Regions from separate parts of the Homo sapiens genome. Here regions 1 and 3 are each linked to region 2. Evidence: promoter capture Hi-C in 16 types of primary human blood cells and fetal thymus (Javierre and others, 2016). All regions are on one chromosome and are shown on one strand. Each heading gives the region's core, a stretch centred on a gene start or on the middle of the fragment in contact. The rest is flanking DNA. Distances are from core to core; before and after follow the strand shown. Region 1 has its middle 94 kb from the start of RFC3. Region 2 holds the start of STARD13 (StAR related lipid transfer domain containing 13). Region 3 has its middle 73 kb from the start of RFC3.

The links. Contacts are between HindIII fragments. The CHiCAGO score rates a contact against its expected background, and 5 or more counts as called.
Region 1: a contact is called between a fragment that was not itself captured here and the fragment with the promoter of STARD13 in region 2, in 5 of 17 cell types (endothelial precursors, M1 macrophages, M2 macrophages and 2 more). The highest score is 11.1, in endothelial precursors.
Region 3: a fragment that was not itself captured here is called in contact with the fragment with the promoter of STARD13 in region 2 in 2 of 17 cell types (activated CD4 T cells and non-activated CD4 T cells); the score reaches 5.8 in activated CD4 T cells.

The regions. Positions count from the first base shown.
Region 1 is chr13:33,722,236-33,726,801 of GRCh38, forward strand. No RefSeq gene overlaps it. Among named protein-coding and RNA genes, the nearest start is that of RFC3, 94 kb to the right of the region's middle. RefSeq lists a silencer at 1,710-1,879. The HindIII fragment of the contact is 2,716 bases long and covers 1,597-4,312 here.
Region 2 is chr13:33,282,646-33,287,415 of GRCh38, forward strand. It overlaps STARD13 (StAR related lipid transfer domain containing 13), which reads right to left and starts at 3,110. Exons shown (of 14, transcript NM_178006.4): 1 at 2,825-3,110. The coding sequence starts at 2,993. RefSeq lists enhancers at 3,213-3,272, 3,283-3,412. The HindIII fragment of the contact is 3,531 bases long and covers 404-3,934 here.
Region 3 is chr13:33,742,293-33,747,034 of GRCh38, forward strand. No RefSeq gene overlaps it. Among named protein-coding and RNA genes, the nearest start is that of RFC3, 73 kb to the right of the region's middle. The HindIII fragment of the contact is 1,374 bases long and covers 634-2,007 here.

The sequences.
Region 1 (4,566 bases), core at 1,705-4,204, 440 kb after region 2:
AAACATTGATCTTTATATTCCTGAGAAACAATTTAATTAGACCTGTAAATGGCTCTTAAAGTACAAATAATGAGAACCAACTATTTGGAAGTGACTTCAAGACTGGCTTGCAAAGAGTGTATAAGTTTCTATTTGATGGTGTAATTACCCATTTGCAAGAGTCACATACACAGGCCAAATCTCCTAATTGATTTACTTAGTAACATGTAACATTGAGGTCACATTACATTAGCAAGGGGAAATGGAAGGCAGAATTATTTACCTTGATACTATAAACGAGAATAAACAAATGATACTTCAATTATCTGATTCTTTCAAATGAGACATTTGAGGTATAAGAATCTGAATTGCATTGTTACTGAATTTCACATTGATACTAGACAGTCTCAGAGTCAGAAAGCCAACGTTTTACATAGAGACTTTAGAGACATTTTTGTCTGTGTAAGTAACTTTTATACAGCTCAATTTGCCAGTATGTGACTTATCTATTTATACATGGGCCAAGTACTTGACTAGTTTTTTAACTTTCCAGTTTTATAAAAATGAAAGTGAAAGAGTCCAAATACTATTTTCATAACTGTCAACTAATTCATAGTTACAGTAACCAGAAAATAGAATAGCGTGTAGGCATTGGACTGAACACAAGGACTTTATTGGATTTTCTTTACTATAATAATATTCCTGGACTTCCCAATTTCATGTGCTTGAAAAATTTAGAAAACATCTTGCTGTAAATCCATACTGCAGATTACTCAAAGGCTTGGGAATATGATTCAAGAGGAAATTCTTTAGATCTGGGATAATTCACTTCTATTTTTCAAGGGCTTTTGTTTTAAGGATACCTGGAAAATCATAAAATCAGATGGGATTTAAGAGTTATTTAATCTAGTGGTACCTATGCACCAGTCATTAGATCTGTGCTGGGCTGCCTGCCTACACATTTTTAGCTAATTTCCATGTCTTCAGACAAGAAAAATGTTTTCCAAGGAAAACAGTTCTTTTGGATTTTTTTTTAAGTGCAATTTCTGGGCCCTGCCCTAGATTTTCTGACTGAGCAAATTTATAGGCAAGGCCCTGGAATCTGTATTTTTTTAAAAAGCTTCCCCGGTGATTTTGAGATCCAGCCATTTGTGGAAACCCACTGATGTTAGTCCAATCTCTTTGTTTTCCAGATGCAAAATCTGAGGCCCACCTTGTCCCAGCTAAGCAAGTGAGGGAGAGGAATCCAGAGCCCTGACTTGTAATTCATTTTTTTTTTGTGTGCTTCTCATTCACTAGGCACATCTGCTGATCAAATCCTTCCCATACCCTCTGGATTCAGAACAAGAGGAAGTGCACATATGTCCACAACAATTTCCCAACACTAGGGAGTATTGATTTGCTGGGGGAGCAAGTGGCATCTCCCTCCCTGGAAAATTTTAAAACCAAAAGAAAAAGTTTAACTGGCTGATAATTTATAAATGAAATCCTCTCTGAAGATAGGAAGATGGGCTAGATAATGTTTTATCTCTTCTAGCCCTAACTTTCCATGCTCCTATAATTTAGTAACAAAAGGAACCCATGCACTTTCTTTTTTTTTAAGACAGTTTCTCCAGAAGCTTCCATGTGTGGAGAAACTTACTCTCTTCCTCCTTCTTCTATTTATCTTTTCTTATCTGAAAGGAGGACTACACTGTAAACATCTACATATGCAAAACCCATGCCTTTGGTACACACCTACCACTTTCAGATCAAACCGACAGCCTAAGTGGCCAGGCTGGCAGCTGGTTTAGGATAAATACAACAGCACCACCTTGTGTTGCGTTTCTGGGAGAATTTACCACTTCAGCAGGACAAAGACTTGGGCCGGGATGGGTGGCTCAGGATACAGCAACTATTCCTTTACTTTCCCTGCTGGGAGCAAATGCTAGCCATTTCGAAAAACCTTTTTGTTTGTTATCAGCCTACAATTTTCTTCTATAAATTCTGTAATTTTTAAAATATAAAAGGTAGCTGAGAAATGGAAATGCAGAAATAAACATATATTAATAAAAGCCTGGGTAAGCACAGTGCTATAGTAAATATTGTAGAGAAAAAGTTAATGTCAGCTTTTATTGCAAAAGACTTGATAGTAAATGTACATTTAATGCTATTGTGATTTAACACTTTCTCTAAAGATTCTCCCATATTTGGGGAGGTAGCTTTTAAACTATGTATTTGCCTATTAAGGGAAGAAAAGAATGTTTCACTTTCTCATAACCATTCTGGGTGAGCCTGGATAAAGTCTTTGTTTTCCCCAAGTATAGTTGTAGATTCACATATATAAATATATATAGATATATATGAATATATATATAATATTCATATTATACCTTGTATTCCCCAAGCATGGTTGTAGATTCATATACTATATGTGTACATATATAATATACATATGCACATATATATTTGCATCTTTGCTGTGGAGCAAGCTAAAAATTTAATATGTGAATATCAACATGGGACTGAAAGACCATAAAGACCAGAAAATCGACATATTTGCTAAACAAATATGTCAAATGTCTGATATTTTCAACAGAAAGAACATGACTAATTAAGGAAGATTATTTCCAGTTGTAATTTGAAATGTCAAGATTAGTGTAACAAATCAGCAATTCTTTGTCTCTGAAATCATCTGGAAAATTGAGCTAAGGCCTTACAAGCTACACATTATTATGGGAAGAGAAGTTACAGGATTAGAAAGTAGCAAACCAGGCATTCGGGGCCTTGCTGGGGCTGGCCATGCAGAAAAACTTACCCAGAAAATCCTGCAGAAAGCTCAGTAATGTTACTTTTAGTTGTAAAAGAGGATTTGGTCTTCAAAGTTTATTTGCCATTGTTCACCCAGTCTTTAGCACGTATATTTACTGTGCTGAGCTAATAACTTTGAATTAGACTTTACAAATAAGAAGGAAAAATTATGTCTTAGTTCCTCATGTGCTTTCTTGTGGAAGGCCAGACAAGTAGCACATTTGATTAGGCAATATTTCTAAGTTTTGGATAATTTTTCTGATATTGTATTCTCCAATTAAATTGTAATCTAATTTATAAAAATACTAAATATATAGTTATGAAGGGTGCACTACAATTTTAAAGAATGTGGAATGTTCAGGTGTGAATCATGAACTTGGAGGGCTTCTAGTAAATACCAGTTGGCAAATACAATGTCATATCAATATGAAGAAAATGCTCTTCTTTTCTTCAAACAAACGCAATCTCAAAAACTCCCAAGGGCTATTCCATTTGTGTACTTATCAGTCACTTGACTGCTTTCCTAATCACTGTTTTCTAGTCCCAGTTCTGTGCACAAAGGAAAGTTCCACCCCGTTCCCCAACCCTGCACTCAGGATCACTCCCCATCAAATGGTGCCTACCTGGAGCAGAATGTTGATTTCACACTTGCTCCAAATGTTCTTCTTCCTTCCATTAGACTTTCACTTAAAATTTATTTTTTGGTAGAATTTGAGTTCCAGGGAGAGTATGGACTTAATTTCTAGTGGCTCTTAATTCTGTACTGCCACCCAGATGGCTTCCAGCTACATGGCTTTTTTGTCACAGGACAAAGCAATGACTGTGGATAATGAAAAAATAATAATTTTCTAGAATGGTGGAATAATTTTAGACACTATTAGTGTTTATTAATTGGGTTGTGTATTAGTCTGCTTGGGCTGCCACAGCAAAATACCCCAGACTGGGAGGCTTAAAGAACAAAAGTTTAGGCCGGGCAAGGTGGCTCACACCTGTAATCCCAGTAATTTGGGAGGTCAAGGCAGGTGGATCACCTGAGGTCAGGAGTTCGAGACCAGCCTGGCCGACATGGTGAAACCCTGTGTCTACTAATAATACAAAAAAATTAGCCAGGCGTGGTGGCTTACACCTGTAATCCCAGCTACTTGGGAGGCTGAGGCAGGAGAATCGCTTAAACTCGGGAGGTGGAGATTGCAGTGAACCAAGGTCGCGCCATTGCACTTCAGCCTGGTGACAGAGTGAGACCCTGTCTCTAAAAAAAAAAGAAAGAAAGAAAGAAAGAAAGAAAGAAAGAAAGAAAGAAAAGAACAGGACAGAAGTTTATTTTCTACAGGTTCTGGAGGATAGAAATCCAACATCCAGGTGCCAGTAGGGTTGGTTTCTGGTTGCAAATGGTCACCATCTTGCTATGTCCTTACATGGTCTTTTTTCTGTAAGCATGGAGAGACAGAGAGAACGCTGGTGTCTCTTCTTCTTATAAGGGCACCAGTCTTATCAGATTAGGACCCCACCCTTATGATTTCATTTAACCTTAATTACTTTGAAAAGCTTATGTCCATATATGGTCACCCTAGGGTTAGTGCTTCAACACATGGAATTTTAGAGGGGACACAATTTAGTCCCTAATAGATGGTAACATAACTTGAACCTGGGAGGTGGAGGTTGCAGTGAGCTGAGATTGCACCACTGCGTTCCAGCCTGGGTGACAGAGCGAGACTCTGTCAAAAAAAAAAAAAAAAATCACCGAAGTTGGATAACCACAAAATGGATGTAATAACACAGCCCTGTCCTAACTTGGTT
Region 2 (4,770 bases), core at 1,860-4,359:
TGGCTGTCACTTTAAGATACTAACCTGTAAACTACAGAAAATAATGCTGTCATTAATTTTATTTGCACATGATTAATGGAATGATTAAAAGCTGTTAGTGACAGGGCACAATGGCTCACATTTGTAATCCCCGCACTTTGTGAGGCTGAGGTAGGAAGATCACTTGAGCCCAGGAGTTTGAGACCAGCCTGCGCAATATAGTGAGACCCTGTCTCTATAAAAAAGTTTTAAAAATTAGCCAGGCATGGTGGCACACTCCTGTAAGTCTCAGCTACTGAGGAGGCTGAGGTGGAAGGATCGCTTGAGCCCAGGAGGTCAATGCTACAGTGAACTATGATCACACCACTGCACTCCAGCCTCGGCGACAGAGTAAGACTCTGTCTCAAAAACAAAAAGAAAACAAAGCTTTTAGTAAAATAACTTGACATCCTGTGTTATTGGGTAGTAACTGGTTAAAGAGAATAAAACATGTAGCACTTTGTTTCCACTAGAGAAATATAACCTGACAGGAAATTTCATAATGAGTGACCAATTCTGGTCCTATAATATAGTGTATTGCTGTATCCTGAGTAGAAAAGTCTAAAAAGTCTCTAGTATATTATATAATCTGAAACTCAATCATAGGTTCAGTACTTTAGCACTCATTATAAAAACTAAAAAATAGTCTAGTGTATTGCAGAGCATGGACTGTCAAGCTGTATTCAAGTATCAGTTCCTACTGGGTGACCTTGGATAAGATGCTTGAAATCTGTGTGCCTCTGTTTTCTCATCTGTAAAATGGGCATAATAAAAAAAATTAACTACAATGATTTTGGTATGCTGTAACTGTTTAATCCACATTCTCTGAAATTACAGTAAACCAATCTTCTAATACAATAAACTCAATAAAATTGTTTCACATTGCTTTCTCATTGTCTTACTAAAGAGTTGTATGATGTTAACACATAATGATTTCTGAATCACAAGACTGTTGGAAATCTTTATTGCTTCCCTGTGATCTTAACTGTCAGTTTTAAGTGTTAGGCATTCATTGACTTCAAACACTCCATTGCCCAGTATAAAAAAGAGGGAATTCTCAAATTACCTAATTAGACAAAAATGAAACATAAACTGAGGGTGCCCATATGTCTGTGTGACAGGGCACGTTCAGTGATAGTGCATGTGTTCACAACTTCAAATCTTGAATGGAAAAATAACCCTCATTCCAAAAAGAACATAAATAATATTTAAATAAAATAAATTATTGTAAATACATCTAAGGAGGTCTGCAAAGCAATTTCAGCTAGTTCTCTGCAATATTTCTCATATGATATGCATGCTGAGGAACATTTATATCTTGTAGATGATAGCGCATCATTAAGCCTCGGTGTTCATAAAGATGATGGCATTTGGAAAGGCACCATTGTCAGAAATTTCTAAAACCAAAGTGGAGCTGGTTTTTATTCTAAGCCTAAAGTATTTTTAAATCTAGCCACAGGGAAATAATTACTTTTGTTTCTATTCAATCAAGACCTGGACACAGAGTTTATGCAATGACATAATATCCTTCCTGAAATCAGACCAGCATGTAGGAAGGACCAGCATCCTTCACACATAACTAGTTCCTGAACCTTTACAAACAAATCCTAATTTCCAAGGAAACAATCTCATCAAATGCTGCCCGCTAGAATACATATTGTTCTTTCTGGAAACATTACAATAAGATTTTCATGATTACAAACCCCAACTTCCTCTTTAATATTCAATATAATCTTAAACTCATTTATTTAAGTGGAAACTGTATTTTTATAATGGCTCTAAAAATTCCTGGTTAACTTATTTAGCACCAATATAATAATTTCTTTTTTTGTTGTGTAGGAGGAGGGTGATCATTAACTGACTGTCAACGTGTGTTAGGGGCTTCTTAGGAACGGCTCTAAAAATTCCTGGTTAACTTATTTAGCACCAATATAATAATTTCTTTTTTGTAGTCTAGGAGGAGGGTGATCATTAACTGACTGTAAACGTGTGTGTTAGGGGCTTCTTAGGAATGTTCGTCTTTCTGCTTTCTACTGATATACCCTATAAGGAGCATGTTTTAAATTTTTTTTTTTTTTGAGACTGGTAAATTTTAGTAATGTCCAGACTTCCAGGCTGGTATTTTGAGGGGCTGGGAATAAAAAGAATATCAAGCAGCTTATAATCAATATTCTCTTCTCTTTGCATTAGGAAGCTGGAGTTTTGTGTGCAGGTTACGGGATTTGTTTTGAGATGAACGAACACCTTAATTCTCTACCAGGAAAACAATATTAACACATCTGTGGCAACTGCTGACATAAACATACAAACAGGAAGAGAATGCGATTCTAGTGCTTAGCCTGGTGGCCTTTAGAACAGAATTCTTGCTTTCCTCCTCTTCACTAAGGATATTCGAAATACTCTGGGCAGGGTGGACATTAGTCCCTCGCCTCCTCCCTAATGAAATAAACAAGTGTCCACATTTTAAATGTGACGGAGTGTGAGGAAACTGCAGAAAAGCTCCTAAGATACACACTGAGTAACAGTTCTCATCTGTTCTGTAGACACACGTCAGTTTGGGAATTTATGATTCACTGTCCCACCGTGAAGTTTTTTGTGCACTTTATGTTGAGCTATGTGGCAGCTAAGGACTGTCCTGTTTGCTGAAAACTGCAGCCTAAAGTTATTTTTCAAAGTTACGGGTAGTGTGGCATAGAAATCCATATGTTATAAAGTGGAAACAAACAAACAAAAAAAACTGGGTTAGCATGAAATAGAGCCAACAGAAATCAGAATGAGCAACAGCCTTCCACTGCCGGCCACTCACCTTGTTGAATTTTAGTCACTAGCTGATGGCGTGCTAGAATCCGGCTCATCCTGTAAGGAGAGCGTCTTGTAGTCTGATCAAATCGCAAGTACATCTCCTGGCCCTCAGGTGTCATGGAATTTAGGTAGTAGCAGCCTGAGGCTGGGGTCCTGGGCACCTGACTGAACATCTCGGCAGATTTCCTATTGCCACCTCAGTCTGCCTGTGGCTGTTGCCGTCTGTCTCCAGTCTCAGTCAAAGAGCAAGGCACCCAGCCCAGGACAGCTCAACAGACCCAGCGATTTTTAAAAAGAAAGAGGAGTGCCAAAGCCACAACTCAGAATTCCAACCCCCGGGGCCCTCACGTGACCTCGGGAACCAATGAGAGGAAGAGAGGAAAATGGGAACGTTTGCAGTCAGCCCTAAGCCCCGACCAGAGGCAGTTCCAGCCGCCAGGGTCCCTCACACAACGCTGAAAGCAAAATACACGTATTTGACGTGCCTCAGAGCTGACGAAGCACCCAAAAGCAGCCCTCACTAAAGGAGTCGAAAGAAAAAGAGAGAGGGAAGGGCAAAACAAGTAGAAGACAAACAAGTCCAGGGCTCAGGAAACTTTTCAGCCTGTCAAAGTTAGAGAAAGCTCCTTCGCTTTCTACAGGGCAGCAGCAGCCAGGTAAAAGATGGACCTGATAAATCTCTTAAATTTAAAAAACACAACACAACAAAAAAAAACTACTTCAAACAAGCATCAACAGCTGAGCGTAAGCCACCACCTTCATTATCAAGAAACAACTCAAATAAAAACTTTTCCAGTGAAAAATAAACTTCAAGGGCTTTAACACCAGGAGTGAATACACCACAGATCCTGACCCTCACGTGATGGGAATTGGAGGGCTCTTACAGATAAGACTCAGAGAGGCAAAGTACACACGCGTTACGTATTAAGCATCCTTTCCTCTTTGATTTCTCTACTTCCCCAATTTTTAATCACCTAGAGGTAAAATACTTAGAAGGTGCCTATCACATTTAAGACACTGAATCATTTAAGACAAGAATCACTGCAGAAGTTGCAAAGGTACTTCAAAGATACTGTCATCAACCTGCTAAGGACCCATTGAGAAGTTATACAAAAGCTTCTAACATGAGGCCATATATATGTCTCAAAAAGGACGCAAACACAATGCTAGGTGAGCAATATTATTTTTGACTGGGGTGATGATTGCAAGCCAGATAGAGAAAGAGACATTTGGATAGGCTTTTTAAAATGGGGGGAATTCTGATAGGCAGAGGCTGGGGAGGGCTTTGCAAGAGACTGTAGGTACCCATGTGTGCAGATCCAGAACCAGAGTATATGGTTTAAGCAAACTGCTAGTAATTCAGTTTGGCCATATCTGAGTGTGTGTGTATATATATACGTGTATATATATATGTGTGTATATATATGTGTATATATGTGTGTATATATATACATACACACACTGAGTGACATATATGTATATGTCATTATAATTTTCCCTGTTTTTCTTCTTTAACATTGTTTGATGTGAAGAGAAAAAGTCCACAGAAAACATGTTATCAAATTCTGAGCCTGGGGCTGAAAGAATAAAGTTCTTTGATACAAAAAGTATATGACCAAGTTGCTTCTACATTTGGCTGACGGAAACATAGCCTGGCTGGGAATTTATAGTCTAATAATGAGAAATTATTTCTACATTATTTCCAAATTAAAAGTTTAACAGGATTTAAATTAGGACTTTGATTCTTCTTACTCTGGCTCTCCGAGGCCCATAAGCCTTAACAACTTTCCCTGAGGGAATTGTTGCTAGCCTGATTCTGAGAAGCAGCTCGTCTTGTATAACTGTCCCGCTATGAGAATAAACAAGTTAAGCACGATCTCTGCAGCCCAGCATGTGACAATTGCCTACTACCTCACGTAGTTGGTAATTGTCAGCCTCTTCGGGTGGTTA
Region 3 (4,742 bases), core at 71-2,570, 460 kb after region 2:
ATCCTCAATGTTGGAGGTGAGGCCTAATGGGAAGTTTTTGCGTCACAGGGTCAGATCCCTCATGAATGGCTTGGTGCCATCTTCAAGGTAATGAGTAAGTTTCGGCTCTATTAGTTCCCATGAGAGCTTGTTATTAAAAAGAGACTACCTTCTTCCTGTCCCTGTGCTTCCTCTCTCACCAGGTGATCTCTGCACTCACTTCCCACCATAAGTGGAGGCAGTCTGAGGCCCCCACCAGATGCAGATGCTGGCGCCATGCTTCTTGTACAGCCTGCAGAACCATGAGGCAAATAAATCCCTTTTCTTTGCAAATTACCCAGCCTCAGGTATTCCTTTATAGAAACACATGCAGACTAAGACAATCTCATTAAATTGGTTAGTTGGAGATAAAGTAAAATCAGTGGCTGGATTAGCTCAGCACGTGTGCTCATTGGATTGTTCTGTAATTGATCACATGTGTAAATCCAAATCTGTTAGTGGACTTACGCTTTTTAATATAGCCTGACAGCATTTCCAAGTTAGTTAATTCACACAGTTATTCAACGTATGTTTATCAATCCCCTGCTTTGTGAGAGCACTATCCTGGGCATTGAAGAGAGAACAGTGATTAGGATTAGACCCCTGCCCTCATGAAGCTTACATTCTAGTGGGTATGATAGACAAACAATAAATGGGTATAGAATAGAATCAGGTAGAGATAAATTCTATGAAATATATTTTTGAAAAGCAGGGGAAGAGGAAAAGGGAGGCAGGGAGTGTTATCTTAAACAGTGGTGGTCAGAAAGAGCCTCTGAAGAGGTGAGATCTGAATTGAGTTCTAAATCCAACCAAGAACATCTAGAGGGAAGAGGAACTGGACAAAGAAAATGAGATGGGAGTGCTTGAAGGCAGCAAGGACCTAAAGTGGCTGAGAGGGAGACAGAGGAGTGTTAGGAGTTAGGATGGAGGCTGAGGGCCAAGTAACTCAGGCCCTTGTAGTCCAGTTTAAAGCTGGATTTTATTCTAACTGTGGTGAGAAGCCCATGGAAGTATTGAGAAGGGCTTGGTGCATTTCTAGGCTATGTTGGCTGCCCTGTAGCAAAGAGACTGAGAGGGAGCAAGTGTGGAAGCCAGCCAGCTGGTTGAATGATTTTACAGGTACAAATATGAGGGGTGAGAGTGGCTATCCACCTTTTTGCAGGCTAACAAATCAGAAATCTGAGGGCTGACTCTTCTCTGCAATTTGTTCTGCATACTGCTGGTCACCCAAGTTTTACCCACAAATGCCACAAGCCACCCAGGCTGAAATGGCTCCTCTCCAGCCTCTAGCCTTCCCAGGTGGCTCAGCCCAGTAACTCACTCAGGACGCCCCATCCCTTTCCCTTGCAGGTGTTACAGCCCCACATAGAGTAGTCTCCACACTGACAGTGAACTCGGCCTCCACCCATTCATCAGTGTGTGTAGAGTCCCAGGTGAGGCCCTGGGATGCCTGGGGCTTGCAATGGCTCAGCTCAACCAGGAAGAAGAAAGCTGGAGAACCTGTTATGTTGTGAGCTCTCAGTGGGAAGAGAAGGGGGAAAGGGAGAGATAAGAGATGTTGCTTTATTTGACTCTTTGTAAACAGCCTCCAGCAGAGTAATGGCTCCATAAATGTTTGCTGAGTGGGTAAAACAAGAAATGATGAACTCATGCAGGGTCCAGACCAGCCATATGGAAAATTCGGGGCTTCATTGTGAAACAGAGGGTGGTTTAGAGAAGGAGGATATGTGAACGAATGGTACTGCTCTCGCACACTGACATTGCCAGGGCAAGTATGTTTTGATGATTATGGATCTGATCTTTCACAATCAACAGACTTCCTGTCTGTCACCTCAGACTTTAGAAACAATGAGAATAAGCTAACATGTAACTGGGAGCTCTTCATGAGAACTGAAAGAGACAACTGGAGCTGTGGTGACAGAGTGGGGCGAGTTGGTGGAGAGGGCAAACTCATTCAGCCTCCCTCATTCCCCTGGCCTTCCAGGCAGAAGCTTCTTCCACCCTGCAGCAGAGGTTATTGCTAAGAGTCCTACAACTTGCCCCTGACTGGTTCCTAGAGAAACTTCTTCCTGCAGGTTTGGGTGCAGAGTGAGCTGTGGCCTTCCAGTTCCCTGCGTGTGCACTCAGGGTGCTTGGAGCATCCTTCAGAAAAGATGGGACCTTGGAAAGTCACTGATTCTTGCTGAGTTGCAACTTCCTCATCTATGTAGGGGAGAAAACTTAGTATCTTTTCTTTATCTCTCACAGTTCATGGCTGAGGCCCATAACAAAATACGGATTAGCAAGAGAAAAGCATAACACATTTATTTAATGCAAGTTTTAAGTGACATAGGCACCTTCAGTAATGAAAACTCAAAGACCCAGGGAAAAGTGTGGATTTTTATGGACAGTCATGCAGAAGTATGACTGGAGGCAAAAGGATATGATCAAGTGGTAATAAGCGGGGGGTACTTGGTAAGGCCTGCTTGTTCAGATTCCTCTTGGCCTCTCTGTGTGACATTCCTTCCCTCCAGCTATAGGACAAGACACCTGTCACATGAAAATCTTCAGGGGAGGAGGGTGGGAGTAGGTCAGAGGTAACCTTCCTAGGTTTTAAGGCCCACTTCAGGGGAGAGAGGGACAAGAGGAATTTCAGTTTCTATGTCCCACTGTAGGGGAGAAGGGGTGGGAGAAGGTCAGAGAGACTATCTTGCTTCTGAGGTTTTCTCAATTTCCTTCAGCATGCTTCACTCAGTATGTCAATATGCCACATTCTGAGGTGGCATTTTTTGCACCTCATCTTCTGTAGTGGGGCCTTTCCTCCACTTTTATTTACTTCACAGAATGATGAACATAGTGGAGGTGATGTGAACGGTAGTTACTATGCTGCTCAGCAAGAGGAAGTGGGGTAGAAGATGGAAGCAGCTTCAGGAGGATTCCAGGCAGGAAGTATATGGGATTAGAGCAGCTGGGTGGAGCAGGGAAGTCCTCCAGGGCAGGGGAGGGGCTACCACTTACAACCTCCAGTCGGAAAGACACAGCACAAAATGGATTCTTTCCAGATTTTTCTACTTGTAATTTTTTTTTAATGAGTACACAGCATTGCATTCCTGTAAAACTTTAATTTTGTTTAAAGAACAAATGCTGCCTACATTCCAGATACTGGTTCTTGCTTCCAGGAGAATACTTGAAATAGATCTTTTCATGAACAAGTGTGTTTGTGGCCAGTGCCCCCATTGGCAAGGCTGTTGAATTAAAAATCCTTAATTTTTTTTTTTTAATTTGTACTCTGTATGTTTACTGAATTACAGAAAGGTACATTCAGAACTTTTGTCTTCTTTCCAAGTGGGTGTCTCAGGAGTCAGCAGCTGCATAAATACACACACAGTTCAGTTAACTGAAATTGGGGATTAATGATGTGTGCTACACCTGCATTTTTAATCTTGCAAAAAAAAACCCATTAAGTGCAAGCATAGAGGATTACGATGAGCCACACACCTGCAGGGAACATGGTGACCTGACGACAGAAATGAGCATGTCTGCTCTGCTGCACAACCACAGGCCAGTCGTCTCCACAGGAGGAGAGTGTTTCAAAGATGCTGATGGGAGGGAGTCCATTGTTATCGTTTCACATAAAGGACAGTGGTAACTGAACATTAGAAAAGAAAAATTGCTGTTCCATTTTTCCTTTATGCAGAAATGAACAACTTATTACAAATTTAACCAGCCTCACTGCCAGCCTTCTCAGCAGTGCCAAGTGATATGAAACAGCAGCAGCAGCAGCAGCCCATGGCATACATTTGAATACACATGGTCCTGTGGCTCACCACACGTTTTGCACTCACCCTCTTTAAAACAGCTTCTGCTTAAACCCCCACTACTTCATCCTTGGGGGCTTAATGCCTTTAGCTAAAGCTAAAGCTTCCTGGAGGCAGTGACCACATCACATCCACCTTCATATCCAACATGTAGTACAGGCTTGTCCCACAACGGATGCTCATTCGGAAGGGCAAGTACTCATTAAATGCTCCATTTAGTAAGAGGACTTATAATATTGCAATGCCCTCTGTTGAATTCCTACTATTGCATTGCCAAAGATGAAACAAAATGATAATAACCAGCATTGGCAGTATTGAGAGAAATGATGAACCTATTTAGAGTTCAAAGTAGCTGTATGGAAAATGTAGGAGTTCATTGTGAAATAGAAAGTGGCTAAAGAGGAGTCATGGTACGTAGACTGTATGGCTGAGATTTCACTTTAGTATTGCCTTTTAATAAAGCAGGTTGGAGGCCGGGCGTGGTGGTTCATGCCTGTAACCCCAGCACTTTGGGAGGTGGAGGCAGGCGGATCACGAGGTCAGGAGATTGAGACCATCCTGGCTAACACGGTGAAACCCCGTCTCTACTAAAAATACAAAAAATTAGCCGGGCATGGTGGTAGGCGCCTGTAGTCCCAGCTACTCGGGAGGCTGAGACAGGAGAATGGCGTGAACCTGGGAGGCAGAGCTTGCAGTGAGCCAAGATCACACCACTGCACTCCAACCTGGGTGACAGAGTGAGACTCCATCTCCAAAAAATAAATAAATAAATAAATAAATAAATAAAGCAGATTGGAAATACCAAAAGGATTAAAATTAGCATATTTTAAAACCAGCAATTCTAAAACATCCTAAGCAACAGCATAAATCATTAATTTGTCCTAATATTTACCTACAAAGAAGTTCATTGCAGCATTGCTTATCATA